Regions from separate parts of the Homo sapiens genome. Here region 2 is linked to region 1. The links are contacts of gene promoters, found by promoter capture Hi-C in human tissues and cell types (Jung and others, 2019). All regions are on one chromosome and are shown on one strand. The core of a region is centred on a gene start or on the middle of the fragment in contact, and the rest is flanking DNA. Distances in the headings are between cores, read along the strand shown.

Region 1 (7,748 bases), core at 1,613-4,112:
TTCAAAAAAGTCCAGTTAGAAAAGGCACCACAGAACCCAGAGAGCAGAGGACAGGCCAGGAGAGGGCGCTGTAGGAAAAGACAAAACTGTCCTGAACTAGGCAGAGGGAAAATGACTCCAGCATTTACCTTTGTCTTCTCTGTTTTCTGGCTATGTCTTCTGATTCTTTAAGAAAAGAAGAAATATTGATCCATGAAGACATAGCCAGAAAATTTCTGCTCTCATCAGCACTTATGGCTCCCATTCTAAAATGTTACTAGTGTTACTTTTCTCAAATAATAATAAAAAAAATAAAGCCTTCCCACTGACTCAAGGTTGGAAGGGGAGCTGACCCATTTGCCTTCTAGGCTCATCCCCTCAGTTAAAAGTAACCAAGACATCAGGGTGGAATGATGTCCACAGTCAGTGGAGGGGCCTGTGCTCCGCTATTCACAGGGGACCAGCCAAGAGTCATTCAGCTGTGGCACGTGAGAAAAACGGTCCTGCCACCCAGCGGGATAACTGTTCTCTTTAGTAAGTGCTTGGAACTGTTTCCAGGAAACATAACAATAACCCAACCCAAGCCCTCACCCCAGAAAGGAGAAGCAGGGGTGTGGATTGTGGAGCAGAAGTTAAGCGGGTGCCTTCCCAGAGAGCTCCTACCTCTCCAGAAAGGGTTCTCTAGCCCTAGCTGTCCCTGGGCTGCCTCCTGACTCATGTGTCTCTCCAGCACTCCCTGCTTTTCCATCATTTCCTGTCTTGAAGACAGTGAAAGAGTTGACTTGTAGAAGAATTAAAACACTGTTTTCTTTACTAGACAGTCAAAGCTTCATCTTAAAACAAAAACATCCTTAAAATTTGTCCATCACAATCACCTACCTGTGCTGCTTGCAGGCAGCCTTCCTCTCTGCCATCTCCCTCTGCAAGGCTTGAGCACAGAGCTGTGGGGAGAAAAATACATCCATGTCCCGACTTGGCCGAAAAGCAAGGGAAAAATGAACAAACTTACCCAGTTGTTGAGGCCTTTCTTGCAGCAGAAGGGGCGATCTGAAAAAGCCAACACATGAGAAAATGTATGTTGACAGATTCTAGGGGCAGTGGCATCATCTTGATGAGCGTTTAAGGATCCTGCAACTGCAGGAAGGAAGGCTCCTTACCTCTCATCTGTAGGAGTCCTCTACCCACTGCTGCAGCTCTTGTCTGTCTTGAATCGTTTTTCTATGGTTTAGAATCACTTTCATCAGACACAGCATCATCTTTAGTATGATTTTAAATAATCTGCCATGTTCCTGTTGTCCTCACAATTGTACCCTTACACAATCTATCTATACATAGAAAATGTATTTCACATGGCTATAAAAGTACAGTATGATCAAAACTGTTGCTGTAATGCTTCCTCCTCTTTTACTTAATGCCTGCTGGGTTCTGAGTTGACAATTTCCTTACCCATTTTCAGTATGTCCCTAATTCATGCTTCATTGGGCATCTTTTATCATAAAGCTCTATTCTCCTGGAATTAATATCCTTGCCATATTTCACAGGGCAGAAACAGCTGAGCTTATAAATAGGCACAGTCCTTTTGAAGGATGGGTTGATCCTACAACAACACACTTTCCTAAGGATGATGACAACTCGCATCACCCCTAGAACGGCTGGTATGAACCGAGTTTCCACACAGTCTGGCTGGCATTGCAGTCAGGAGATGTTTGGCTACTTCACATGTTTTGAACACTAGTAAATCTTAAGGTACTTGTGTTCTCTGGTGTGAATTGTCTCTCTCTCTAGGTATCGCTTCTGACCATTTGTTTCCATTTCTGTGTTAACTGGGTCTAAACATTGTACAAAGATTTAAAACAAAACACTCCACCAGCGCTTCCCCAAGAGGCTGGTGTCGGTTTCCGAACCCACTTGCAGATGGGTATTTTTTCTAGAGCCAATTTCATGGTTTCTTCCACCTCTGACAGCCGCCTCCCCTTTTCTTCTCGTTCACGTTCTTTCATTCTCAGCTTCCTGAGTCGAGAAGGGAGAGAAATGCATGCACGTGATCCACTGGCCTGTGTGGGATTCCTTGCGGCATCTGAAGGCCGTGATTCAAAGGTCCCCTGACAACCTTCCCATAAATGAACCAACTGATCCTCACAACTGGAGGGAGAATTAACACCTTCCATGGGACAAAGAAAAAGCACATTCTGGCCTGCTGGCAAGTCACCTGTCGTTTCCAGCTCATCTTCATCGCTCTGTATTCCTACTCTTTAGTAAATATGAACTATTAAAAGCTTCTATGAGATGCGCTATGTGTGCTTCTGGGGTCAGTCTTTTGCCTGACATAGCGAAAGCTCATTTTAGTTCAGTGTAGAAAACCAGACCTCACCAGCTCATCACAACTAAACCCATAAGGACGGAGCAGAGGATCACTCCTCGTCTGACTCCTCCCACAGGGAAACCTGATTCTCCATCAGAGGCTGATGCCAGAACCCAGACAATCAGCCTCAGAGAGATCCTTCCAGGACATGCTGTCATTAGCCCTGCGGTTCACTACTGCACATGTCCATGATTCAGGACTGGAACTCTTCTCATCGACTTTAAAGATCCTGGTTGAGAGAAAAGGCCAATCTGAGTGCTGGGTGCATCTACTGAATTGGAAATGATCCAATGGCTCTTTAGTCAGGGTGTTATGTCCTGAAAATAGGTGACAACTGCAAACCATCCTCTGGTGTCCAGAGACTTTAACAAGGTTTGTTTCACACAGACTGAGGGCAGAAAAAAGGAAATGGCCTAAAAAGGTGGGTTTGCTGTGTTGCCTCACACTACTTGATTCATGGTTCTGATTCTAAAAATCTCACTTGATACTTGATTTCATATGAAAGACGTGTAAAATGCCTGGGTAGAGGCGGCGGCGGCGGCGGCGGCGGCGGGCTCGGAGGCAGCGGTTGGGCTCGCGGCGAGCGGACGGGGTCGAGTCAGTGCCGTTTGCGCCAGTTGGAATCGAAGCCTCTTAAAATGGCAGATGATTTGGACTTCGAGACAGGAGATGCAGGGGCCTCAGCCACCTTCCCAATGCAGTGCTCAGCATTACGTAAGAATGGCTTTGTGGTGCTCAAAGGCTGGCCATGTAAGATCGTGGAGATGTCTGCTTCGAAGACTGGCAAGCACGGCCACGCCAAGGTCCATCTGGTTGGTATTGACATCTTTACTGGGAAGAAATATGAAGATATCTGCCCGTCAACTCATAATATGGATGTCCCCAACATCAAAAGGAATGACTTCCAGCTGATTGGCATCCAGGATGGGTACCTATCACTGCTCCAGGACAGCGGGGAGGTACCAGAGGACCTTCGTCTCCCTGAGGGAGACCTTGGCAAGGAGATTGAGCAGAAGTACGACTGTGGAGAAGAGATCCTGATCACGGTGCTGTCTGCCATGACAGAGGAGGCAGCTGTTGCAATCAAGGCCATGGCAAAATAACTGGCTCCCAAGGTGGCAGTGGTGGCAGCAGTGATCCTCCGAACCTGCAGAGGCCCCCTCCCCCAGCCTGGCCTGGCTCTGGCCTGGTCCTAGGTTGGACTCCTCCTACACAATTTATTTGACGTTTTATTTTGGTTTTCCCCACCCCCTCAATCTGTCAGGGAGCCCCTGCCCTTCACCTAGCTCCCTTGGCCAGGAGCGAGCGAAGCCATGGCCTTGGTGAAGCTGCCCTCCTCTTCTCCCCTCACACTACAGCCCTGGTGGGGGAGAAGGGGGTGGGTGCTGCTTGTGGTTTAGTCTTTTTTTTTTTTTTAAATTCAATCTGGAATCAGAAAGCGGTGGATTCTGGCAAATGGTCCTTGTGCCCTCCCCACTCATCCTTGGTCTGGTCCCCTGTTGCCCATAGCCCTTTACCCTGAGCACCACCCAACAGACTGGGGACCAGCCCCCTCGCCTGCCTGTGTCTCTCCCCAAACCCCTTTAGATGGGGAGGGAAGAAGAGGAGAGGGGAGGGGACCTGCCCCCTCCTCAGGCATCTGGGAAGGGCCTGCCCCCATGGGCTTTACCCTTCCCTGCGGGCTCTCTCCCCGACACATTTGTTAAAATCAAACCTGAATAAAACTACAAGTTTAATATGAAAAAAAAAAAAAAAGAAAGAAAGACGTGTAAAATGCCAAGAACTCTAGGAAACAGGGACAAAAACACTTCAAAGAGAAAGTTCATGCACTTGTTTCTGACCACCCAGGGCACCCTTCAGCACACGCTGTCTGGAGTGGCCTGAAGCAAGGAGTGTCTTGTGAGGTGCAGAGGATGCAATGGGAGCAGGGTCCTGTCCCCACCCTAAAGGAGTTCACAGTTTAACGCAAATGAGAAGCCAGTGAGGACATCACTACTCCTGCTGTGAACTTGGGAACTAGAAACACAAAACCTGAGTCTGGAGGGAAGCTAAGGAAGCATTCTGCTCTGGAGTAGACATGAGTGCGTGTGAAGCTTCTGATCTCCCATGAGAGCAATGGGGACATGGGGCAGAATCTAAAACCCATGACTGAAAGCACCAAATTGCTAAAATGGCAATAAAGAGACATGAGGCCAAGATGGAGAAGAAGGAACCCAGGACGAGGGTCAGCCTCACATTTGGGGCTCATTTCCCTCAGTTTCCTCACTGAATTTCAGAAGGGACTAACTGAGATGCAAAGAAGCAGAGCAGCTTTTGCACCATGTGGAGGACTAGATGGAAAACAAGTAGACTGAGGGTCTGCTAGTGAAGGTGACCCCTACTGAAGTCCACTGGCTTTGGTTGGGACCCAGAAGAGTCACACGCCAGGAATAGAGGTGGACAGGAAACACCCTGACTTTTGTAGGGACTGAACCTCACTGATAACCTCAATTGCGGATGGTATGGAGGGTGTCTAGGTGTGCTAGGACCCCTGCCCATTCCCCAGAAATAGACTCCCATCTTTTCTACAGCAAGATAACGTGCTAGTAGGCCTCAATTCATTGCTAAATATTTTTAACGAGTGTCTTACATTTAGCCAAAAAGACTAGTCATGTGGCAGGAAAAATACAATGTCATATGACCAAAAGCTAAAAGACTGTGAAAATGAATCCAGAGGTGACCCAAGCATTGAATTTAACAATGCCAGTACCTGGACCTCCGCTTGCCCCTAAAACATTACAATCAAGAATGTAGGAAGGGAAAGGAAACACGAAGATTAATCAAGCAGGAAGGACAAGCTCAGTTTTGCACCCACTGAATTTGCCACAAATATTGTGGAAAATATTCTCGGGGACATTGCAGTTGTCTACTTTGGTTGGCACATGGTTCATACAACAGTGTTTGTGTCAGTGAACATCTTACTCTTCCTCGGCAGTCTTTCTTTGCCCAGAGATTTCGCAATGACTGTTGACCTTCATCATCACCTTTTGGACTTTGGCTTGCACTTTAGCTTCTGTAGATCTCCATGATGTAAAGAAGTATTTTAGGTCCATTTTAATTCCTGCAAAGGATAAAATCCTTCTATTTGTGTGCATATAAGTGGACCTGAGCCCTTGGTTAGGGTGTAGAGAGGAGAAGGGGAGAAACCTGAGGGCCAGAAGCTGTTCTTTCCCTTAAAAGGGCAAACTCATTTCCACACTATGGGGACTCTGACAGATAGCATACCTTCCTGTCTATGGCTATTGGACCTGCAGGCTTTCCCCTGTAAATCCGTGTTCTGTCATTGACATTTTGTGACTGTAAGACAGACTTGAGATAAGACATCTAGAAAACAATAATTGAACAATGATGTGAATATATTTCACACAACTGAACTGTACATTTCAACAAGGTTAAGATGGTAATTATCACGTTATACATTTTTTACCGCAGGTTAAAATGTTTCACAGGTTGAAAGGAAAGCAACTACCTTCAGTTCTCTGAGTTCAAGAATTTGTAACATTTCACCCCCTGCTCCTTCCTGATCTTCTGTGGAGCATCTTTTTTCCATCCATGCTCTACTCAGAGCCCACTTTCCCTTCCCTGACACCAGCTTCACTGAGGCTGGTTGGAACCTAACACAAAACATTCTCAGTAATGACTGAATTCCCACAAAGAATTCCATATAGACTGCATATGAGTTGAATCTTCTAAGACATGAAATATTTGTTCTCTTCTTGGCTAATATGCAATGCAAATCCTGTTGCAGATGTACGTCATATACCTCTGAAATTCCTGATGTATTCAATGAAATAACATCTTTAAAGTTCTGTGTAGAATGTTTTTTTTCTGATTTCTTCACATACGATAGAAAAAAAAACCCAAAAAAACATGTACTAGGATTTCAATAGAAGCAATGGGTGATCTAAAAAGATGAAAGAGCAACCGCATGCGCCCTACAGCTACCGCTAGATTTTATGGGGAAAGCAGCTGGCCCAGTTTGCAGCTAGGAGAAATGTCAAACACATGAAGAAATGAGAAGCAAAGAAAAACCATGAGGCATGAACATTTCATGGCAATCACGATGTCCTGGTTTGTGAGATAATGGGATAGAGGAGTAGAAAACAAGGAGAAAGATGAGAAGGTACAAAGTGGTTCAAGTCAAACAGCTCAACTGAACTTTTCTTAATGGAATATTTAAAAAGTGGTACATTAAAAAACTTCCCCCAGTTCACATCAAAAATTCTCTCTTCAGGACTAAGTTGGGTAGAGACTGTTCAATGTGCCTAGATATCTTCAGAACTTATATATTTTCTGTTTTCTACGTATGTTGAAGGGCAGTGCCAAATGATGTGTAATTATCTAGGTTGTAAAAATAAAACATACTCCCCCTTCCCTTGAGGATAAAAAAGCATTGTGGTATTAGCACTTTTTTCTTGGATCATTGTTCAGAAGATGTTTAAGCCCCTAGACACCCAAACTTTTACTGTCATGAACAGCAAGAGAAAACGTAGAGCTCGATTTACTCAATGGACAAAAATGCTCAAAAGCCAAATTATGGCACAATTTAGCAGCCACATTCTTAACCAGTACAGACTTTTGACATACCGATCCCTCTCCAGTGGCAACCGAGAATGTGTACTTTGAATGATGCCATTTGAAATGACCACTCATTACTCTGCCCAGACACACTTTTCATTGATTCTTCGGAGGGCAGTTCCAAGAGATTCTCTGGGGCTTTCTCTGCATCATGAGACACAGTGCAGTTCTGCCCTTGACCTTCCTGCAGTTTGTCGCCTCTTCCTCATGATCTCAGAGGAACTTTGTCTCAGGCCAGCTGTTTGTTCCTTGGGCTCTTTCATTTCCCCTAAAAATCATTTGCTGTCCTGCCTTCATCTCCATCTCCCGTTTCCCTGAGAAGAGGGTGCTCATTAAGCATCAGTCATCTGGCCCTTCTTGCAGTCTCATTTTTTGGCTGGCTCCCATGTTTATGCATGTTAATAAGGTTCTATGTTTTCCTTCTCCTGTTAAGCTGTCTGTTGTTAGTACATTGCTGCAGTGAACTTTTAGAGAGGAGAGTGGAAGCTTTCCTTCCACCCATACAATAGAACTATAAAGCAGAAAAGTTTAGAAAGAATTTCTTATTTAAGTGCTGAAACTTTATACTTCAGTTTTTGATAAAGAGCAGAGGGCTTAAAAAAAACGTATTTTTGACCAAAAGCTCTGTTGACATTCTATTAAACAAACACAAACCTATTTAATTTTTTAATTAAATAGGTTGAATTAAAAATTTAAAAAAATTTTAAAAATCTGCCATAATTTAAATGGCAGATTTTTCATAATTCTTATGCTAATAAATCATTTCCTGATTTTTTAAATAAAACCCAAT
Region 2 (7,097 bases), core at 990-3,489, 610 kb after region 1:
AACAAAATTTTTACAAATTAAAAAAACCAGACTATGTAGTACTTCACACTGGGTTAGACGATGAATTCGAAATCATGAATGTTGGCTGTTAGGAATATAACTATTTATTATAACTGTTAATATTATGATTATTATTATTATTGAGACAGAGTCTGGCTCTGCACCCAGACTGGAGTGCAGTGGCACGATCTCGGCTCACTGCAACCTCTGCCTCCCATGTTCAAGCGATTCTCCTGCCTCAGTCTTCCTGTAGCTGGGATTACAGGTGCACACCACCACATCCAGCTAATTTTTTAAGAATATTTTTGGTAGAGATGGGGTTTCACCATGTTGACCAGGCTGGTCTCGAACTCCTGACCTAGAGTGATCCACCCACCTCGGCCTTCCAAAGTGCGAGGATTACAAGATAAGCCACTGTGCCTGGCCAATATCATTATTATTATTATTATTATTATTATTATTATTATTTTGAGACAGTCTTGCTCTGTCATACAGGCTGGAATGCAGTGATGCAATCTCAGCTCACTGCAACCTCTGCTTCCCGGGTTTAAGCAATTCTCGTGCCTCAGCCTCCCAAGTAGCTGGGATTACAGGCATGTGCCACCACCCCTGGCTAATTTTTTTTTTTTTTTTTTCTTTCTTTCTTTCTTTTTTTTTTTCTTTTTTTTTTAGTAGAGACAGGGTTTCACCATGTTGGCCAGGCTGGTCTCAAACTCCTGATTTCAGGTGATCCGCCCACCTCACCTCCTGAAGTGCTGGGATTATAGGCGTGAGCCACCACACCCGGCCATAACTGTTAATATTAAACCTCTACCCTCATTCTACACTTTGCTTCTCCCTGTACCAAGCGGATCTTCCTATCTTCCTACATCTTCTCCTACCTGGGAGGATTCAGGGCCACATGTAAGAAAGGGGGCAAAATAAAGGGGTTATGCCTATTGCAGCACAATTCATAATTCCCAAGGTACAGAACCACCTTAAGTGCCCATTGATCAATGAATGGATAAAGAAAATGTGGTATATATGCACTATGGACTACTACTCAGTCATAAAAAGGAACGAAATAATGTCTTTTTTGTTTTTTTTTTTTGAGATGAAGTCTCGCTCTGTCACCCAGGCTGGAGTGCAGTGGCGCGATCTCGGCTCACTGCAAACTCTGCCTCCCGGGTTCACGCCATTCTCCTGCCTCAGCCTCCCGAGTAGCTGGGACTACAGATGCCGGCAACCATGCCTGGCTAATTTTTTTTTTTTTTTTTTTTTTTTTTTTAGTAGAGACAGGGTTTCACCGTGTTAGCCAGGACGGTCTCGATCTCCTGACCTCATGATCCGCCTGCTTCGGCCTCCCAAAGTGCTGGGAATACAGGCGTGAGCCACTGCACCCAGCAGAAATAATGTCTTTTGAAGCAACTTGGATGGAGTTGGAGACCATTATTTTAAGTGACGTAACTCAGGAATGGAAAACCAAATACCATATGTTCTCACTTATAAGTGAGAGATAAGCTATGAGGACACAGAGACATACAGAGTGATATAATGGACTCTGGAAACTCAGAACGGGGAGGATGGGTGGGGAGTGTGGAATAAAATACGACATGTTGGGTACGATGAACACTACTTGGGTGGTGCACGCACTAAAATCTCAGAATTCACCATTATACAATTCATTCATGCAACCAAATATAACTTGTACCCCCAAAGCTACTGAAATTTTATAAAATTAATAACAATTTAAAAAGAAACAGTTCTCTTTCTGCCTCCACTGCCACCATGGCTCCCGGGAAAAAGCTTGTGGTGAAGAGGGGCAAAAAAAAGAAGCAGGTTCTGAAGTTCAGTCTTGATTGCACCCACCCCGTAGAATATGGAATCATAGACGCTGCCAATTTTGAGCAGTTTCTGCAAGAGAGGATCAAAGTGAACTGAAAAGCTGGGAAACTTGGCGGAGGGGTGGTGACCATCGAAAGGAGCAAGAGAAAGATCGCCATGATATCTGAGGTGACTTTTTCCAAAAGGTATTTGAAATATTACACCAAAAAATATTCAAAGAAGAATAATCTATGTGATTGGTTTTCGTAGCTGCTAACAGCAAAGAGAGTTATGGATTACATTATTTCTAAACTAATCAGGACGAGGAAGATGAGGATTAAATTTCATTTATCTGGAATATTTTGTATGAGTTCTTGAATAAAACTTGGGAACAAAAAAAAAAAAAAGAAAAAGAAACAAAAAACTTCTTATTTTTTTCTTTTTTTGAGATGGGTCTCACTCTGTCACCCAGGCTGGCATATGCAGTAATGTAATCATAGTTTACTGCCGCCTCGACTTCCCAAGCTCCTGCCATCCTTCCACATCAGCCCCCTGAATAGCTGGGACTACAAGTGTGTGCCACCACACCCGGCTAATTTTTAAATTTTTTTTGTAGAGACAGGGTATGGCTATGTTGTCCAGGCTGGTCTTGAACTCCTGAACTCAAGCCACCCTCCTGCCTCAGCCTCCTAAAGTGCTAGGATTACAGGAGTGAGCCACTACTTCCAACTTCAAAAAAACAAATCTCAACCCATCAAGTCGCCCCCTCCTTTTCCTTCCCCCGAGAGACATCCACATTCACACTTCACTGGCTCACTTTCTCTGGCTATAACTTCTGTGCCTTGGGTTAGTAGCCCCTCTTCATCTGTGCAGAATGGGCTAGGTTTGCCCAGTGCTCACTGAGAGCTCTCCCGGCGTGGGTCTTTCTGGTACCTCTGGAAATCTTCTCTTGTGCCAAAGGAAGAAGACAAGGAGGCTTTGTACAGCTCAGGCCCTCCCAGCCACTGACGCTCTTTTAATTGGGCTGTCCTCTCACCCCATCTCTCTCCCCAAAGAGATGACCAGCCCCTATTTCCTGTTTCCTTTGGCCCTTTGCCTTTGGGTATGGATTGGGAGAGCAAGCCCCTGCCAGATTTCCCACCACTTGTGCCCCGGCCCAGCCAGGCTGGGAGGACCTGAGCACATCCTGTAGCATTGCCTGTGGAGGCAGTACAGGTGCCTGGGAGGCAAATCCCTAACTAGTCTCTGTGTGCCCTGGGCCCACCTCCTAACTTCTCCAAGCCTTACATTCTGTATGCTCCCATGACCCTGGCAGGTAGCCTCACAGTCCACGCAGATTGTGACGGTATCTGCCAGGGTCATGGGAGCATTAAGTGAAAGAGAAACGTCTGCACATTAGGGCACTTCATTCATGCAGGTGGTTATGAGCGTTCTCCCCTAACTGCACAGGGCTTGCCACTCTGCGCCCCCCATATCCCATTCATCCCTTTCTCACCTCCACTCTTCAGATTCTCTATTTAGTGCCTTTCCTGGGACTTCAGAGTCAAGAGGCCTGATCATGCAGAGGACCATGAATTTTGGAATCGGATCCACCTAGCTTCCAAACTGGGATCTGCCACCCTCTACTCTTGAATCAGATATACTTAATAGATCTTATTTTTTTAAATGGGGATAAGGATATCTACTTGATAGGTTTACTGATGCAAGGATTAAATAGGGTAATGCATATACAGCCTTAGCACAATACCAGGTTCAGAGAAGTTTAGCAAATAATAGAATAATAATAAATAATAAGAGGTATGACTAGATCCAGCTGGCTACCCACCTTGCTTTGAGGCCTGGTATATGGTTGGCATATTTCTCTAGTTCCTGCCACTGATGCCGGTCTCCCCTATCTTTAATTTCACTGGTCACTTTCAAGAATATTGGAAGGAGGAGGTTTGTCAACTGGGTCCACTGGCTCCATACTATCATTTTGCCCAGGAGTTTCCCTTTACATGTTTGGGCCAGTTTCTGTTGGTATACAGAAATAAATTGATTTCCAAACACTTATCTTAATTTTTTTTTTTTTTTTGAGACAAATTCTCACTCTGTCGCCCAGGCTGGAGTGCAGTGGCACGATCTCGGCTCACTGAAACCTCCGCCCCCTGGGTTCAAGCAATTCTCCTGCCTGAGCCTCCCTAGTAGCTGGGATTATAGGCGTGTGCTACCACGCCTGGCTAATTTTTGTATTTTTAGTGGAGACAGGGTTTCTCCATGTTGGCCAGGCTGGTCTCGAACTCCTGACCTCAAGTGATCCACCTGCCTCTGCCTCCCAAAGTGCTGGGATTAACAGGCATGAGCCACTGCACCCAGCCAAACACTTGTTGATAGTGGCATCTTTTTTTATTTTTTAAATTTTTAATTTAATTTTAAGTTTTTAAATTATTTATTTATTTTTTAGAACAGTGTCTCACTCTGTCACCCAGGCTGGGGTGCAGTGGTGTGATTATAGCTCACTGCAGCCTCAAACTACTAGGCTTAAGCGATCTTCCTGCTTCAGCCTCCCCAGTAATAGGTGTGTGCCACAACGCCCCGCTAATGTGTGTGTGTTTTTTTTAATTTTTAGTAGAGATGGGATCATGCTGTGTTCCCAAGGTTGGTTTCAAACTCCTGGGCTCAAGTGATCCTCCCACCTTGGCCTCCCAAAGTGCTGGGATTATAGGCATGAGCCACCATGCCTGGCCAATAATGGCATCTTTACCTCATTCCTGATTTAATAAAGAATACATTTCTCCTTTCTCTGTTATGTACAGATGAACTATTTAAGATAAAAGTAGTTGGCGGGGCATGGTGGCTCATTCCTGTAATCCCAGCACTTTGGGAAGCTGAGGCGGGAGGATTACTTGAGCCCAGGTGCTCAAGACCAGCCTGGGCAACACAGCAAGACCCCTCGTCTCTATTTTTATTATTTTTTTAATTTGAAAAACTATAAATATAAAAATTAAAGGTAGTTATCTTGTTAAGGAAATGTCCCATTATTTCCTTTATTTTTATCCTAAGTTTGTTGTTATTACTGTTTTTAAGTTAGGGAGGCCTGTTTAATTTCATCAAATATGGTTTCAGTATTTATTGAAATTATATGTCTGTTTTGCATTTTTGTTTCCTTGACCTTGTGACAGACATGATGTAGAGAGATTTTCCCAGAACTCCCCTCGGAAATGAGTAGCTAGCCAACTACTTTATGTTCAAAGTAGTGGTAAAAGGATGGACTAGGCAATAAAGAGCATTAGGACATTTAGATACCCATTTAGGGAAAAATTTAAGTTTGATTCCTTCCTTGCAACCACATAAAAATTCTAGATGGATTAGACATTAGACCTTGAGAAAACCTTAAAACTGTTTGAAGGAAACATAGAAAAATATCTTTACAGCCTTGATTCGAGGAATCATAAGCAAGTTGTAAACTCTATAAGCCATAAAAGAAAATATTGGGAGGCCGAGGCGGGCGGATCACGAGGTCAGGAGATTAAGACCATCCTGGCTAACACGGTGAAACCCCGTCTCTACAAAAAATACAAAAAATACAAAAAATTAGCCGGGCGCGGTGGCGGGCGCCTGTAGTCCCAGCTACTCGGGAGGCTGAGGCAGGAGAATGGCGTGAACCCAGGAGGGCGGAAGTTGCAGTGAGCCGAGATAACGCCACTGCAGTCCGGCCTGGGCGAAAGAGAGGGACTCCGTCTCAAAAAAGAAAAAAAAAAAAAAAAAAAAAGAAAAGAAAATATTGAGAGATTTGGCTACCTAATATTTAAAACTTCTGAATGATGAAAGACACCACCAAGAAACTTAAATATAATGGAAGGCTGGAAGAAGACATTGCCAACATATATAACAGGCATTGCATTAATAATCAGAGTATATAAAGGAAAGGGAGGAAAATAGAAAAAAGTAATCGAAGAAGCAAATAAAGCTTAACCTCACTCATAACAAGTAGCATGTAAATAACAATAACAACAAGGTAACATTTTCCATCATCAAGCTGTCAAAATTTTAAATAATAAATATCCAGTGTTGGAGAATGTAGGTGACTGATAGGTTTACACTTCAGGTATCTCCAATCCAGAAGGGTTTTTTTTGTTTTTTTGTTCTGTTTTGTTTTTGAGACGGAGTCTCACTCTGTCACCCAGTGCAGTGGGTGACACTGCAGGAGTGCAGTGGCGCAATCTCGGCTCACGGCAAGCTCCGCCTCCCGGGTTCATGCCATTCTCCTGCCTCAGCCTCCCGAGTAGTTGGGACTACAGGCGCCCGCCACCACGCCCGGCTAATTTTTTGTGTTTTTAGTAGAGACGGGGTTTCACCATGTTAGCCAGGATGGTCTCAATCTCCTGACCTCGTGATCCACCCGCCTCGGCCTCCCAAAGTGCTGGGATTACAGGCGTGAGCCGCCGCGCCCAGCGCAGAAGTATTTTATGTAAATGGCGCCCCCTGCAGCCCAATTCCTACCTAGACTAACATGCTCAGGTGCACCTTGGAACAGCGCTGGAAGACCCCTTGCCCCTCCTGTGGGCTTAGTAACAATTTGGGGAACAGTTTTTGGCCTATCTGGCAAAATGTAAAAGGCCTTTGACGCAATGATTCCTCTTCCAGCCTTTCAGAAATATGTACATACAGGAATATGTACTACGTACATGAAGATATATGCAAAGGAATGTTTATTAAAGCTTATTTTATATTGGAGAGAAAAAGGAAGCAATCTACATGTCTGTCAATAGGGGACTGTTTGGATAAATAATGCTCCTTGTATCCATTCATGGGATATTTTAACTCTTAAAAGGAATGAAGTGGATTTATCTGTACCCACATAGACTGATCTCCAAGATTATTTTCTTTTATTTTAAGATGGAGTCTTGCTCTGTTGCCCAGGCTGGAGTGCAGTGGTGCAATCTTGGCTCACTGCCACTTCCGCCTCCTGGGTTCTGATTCTCCTGCCTCAGCCTCCTGAGTAGCTGGGACTACAGGCGCCCAACACCACGCCCTGCTAATTTTTTGTATTTTTAGCAGAGACGGAGTTTCACCACGTTGGCCAGGTTGGTCTCAAACTCCTGGCCTCAGGTGATCCACCCACCTCGGCCTACCAAAGTGCTGGGATTACAGGCGTGAGCCACTGCACCCAGCCAAGATTTAATGTTATGACTGAGATAAACATGAATGAAAGCAAATCTTCAAAATATCTATGACTTGATCTCATGTATATACATTTGTGTCTGAATATACATTAGGTAGATGGGGAATGCATAGACGTGGAACAGGCAGAG

The links. The method cuts DNA at HindIII sites, captures the fragments that hold promoters and counts their contacts. A contact is called where the count stands out against the background at its distance.
Region 2: a fragment that was not itself captured here is called in contact with the fragment with the promoter of EIF5AL1 in region 1 in 2 of the 25 tissues and cell types used here (H1 embryonic stem cells and aorta).

The regions. Positions count from the first base shown.
Region 1 is chr10:79,509,671-79,517,418 of GRCh38, forward strand. EIF5AL1 (eukaryotic translation initiation factor 5A like 1) reads left to right here and starts at 2,863. Exons shown (of 1, transcript NM_001099692.2): 1 at 2,863-6,770. The coding sequence starts at 2,980. The coding sequence ends at 3,444. LOC729815 (a long non-coding RNA gene) reads right to left here and starts at 1,312. Exons shown (of 3, transcript NR_136624.1): 1 at 1,137-1,312; 2 at 859-920. The HindIII fragment of the contact is 1,814 bases long and covers 1,531-3,344 here.
Region 2 is chr10:80,124,174-80,131,270 of GRCh38, forward strand. It overlaps the pseudogene RPL22P18. Among named protein-coding and RNA genes, the nearest start is that of PLAC9, 5.0 kb to the right of the region's middle. The HindIII fragment of the contact is 7,775 bases long and covers 1-6,127 here.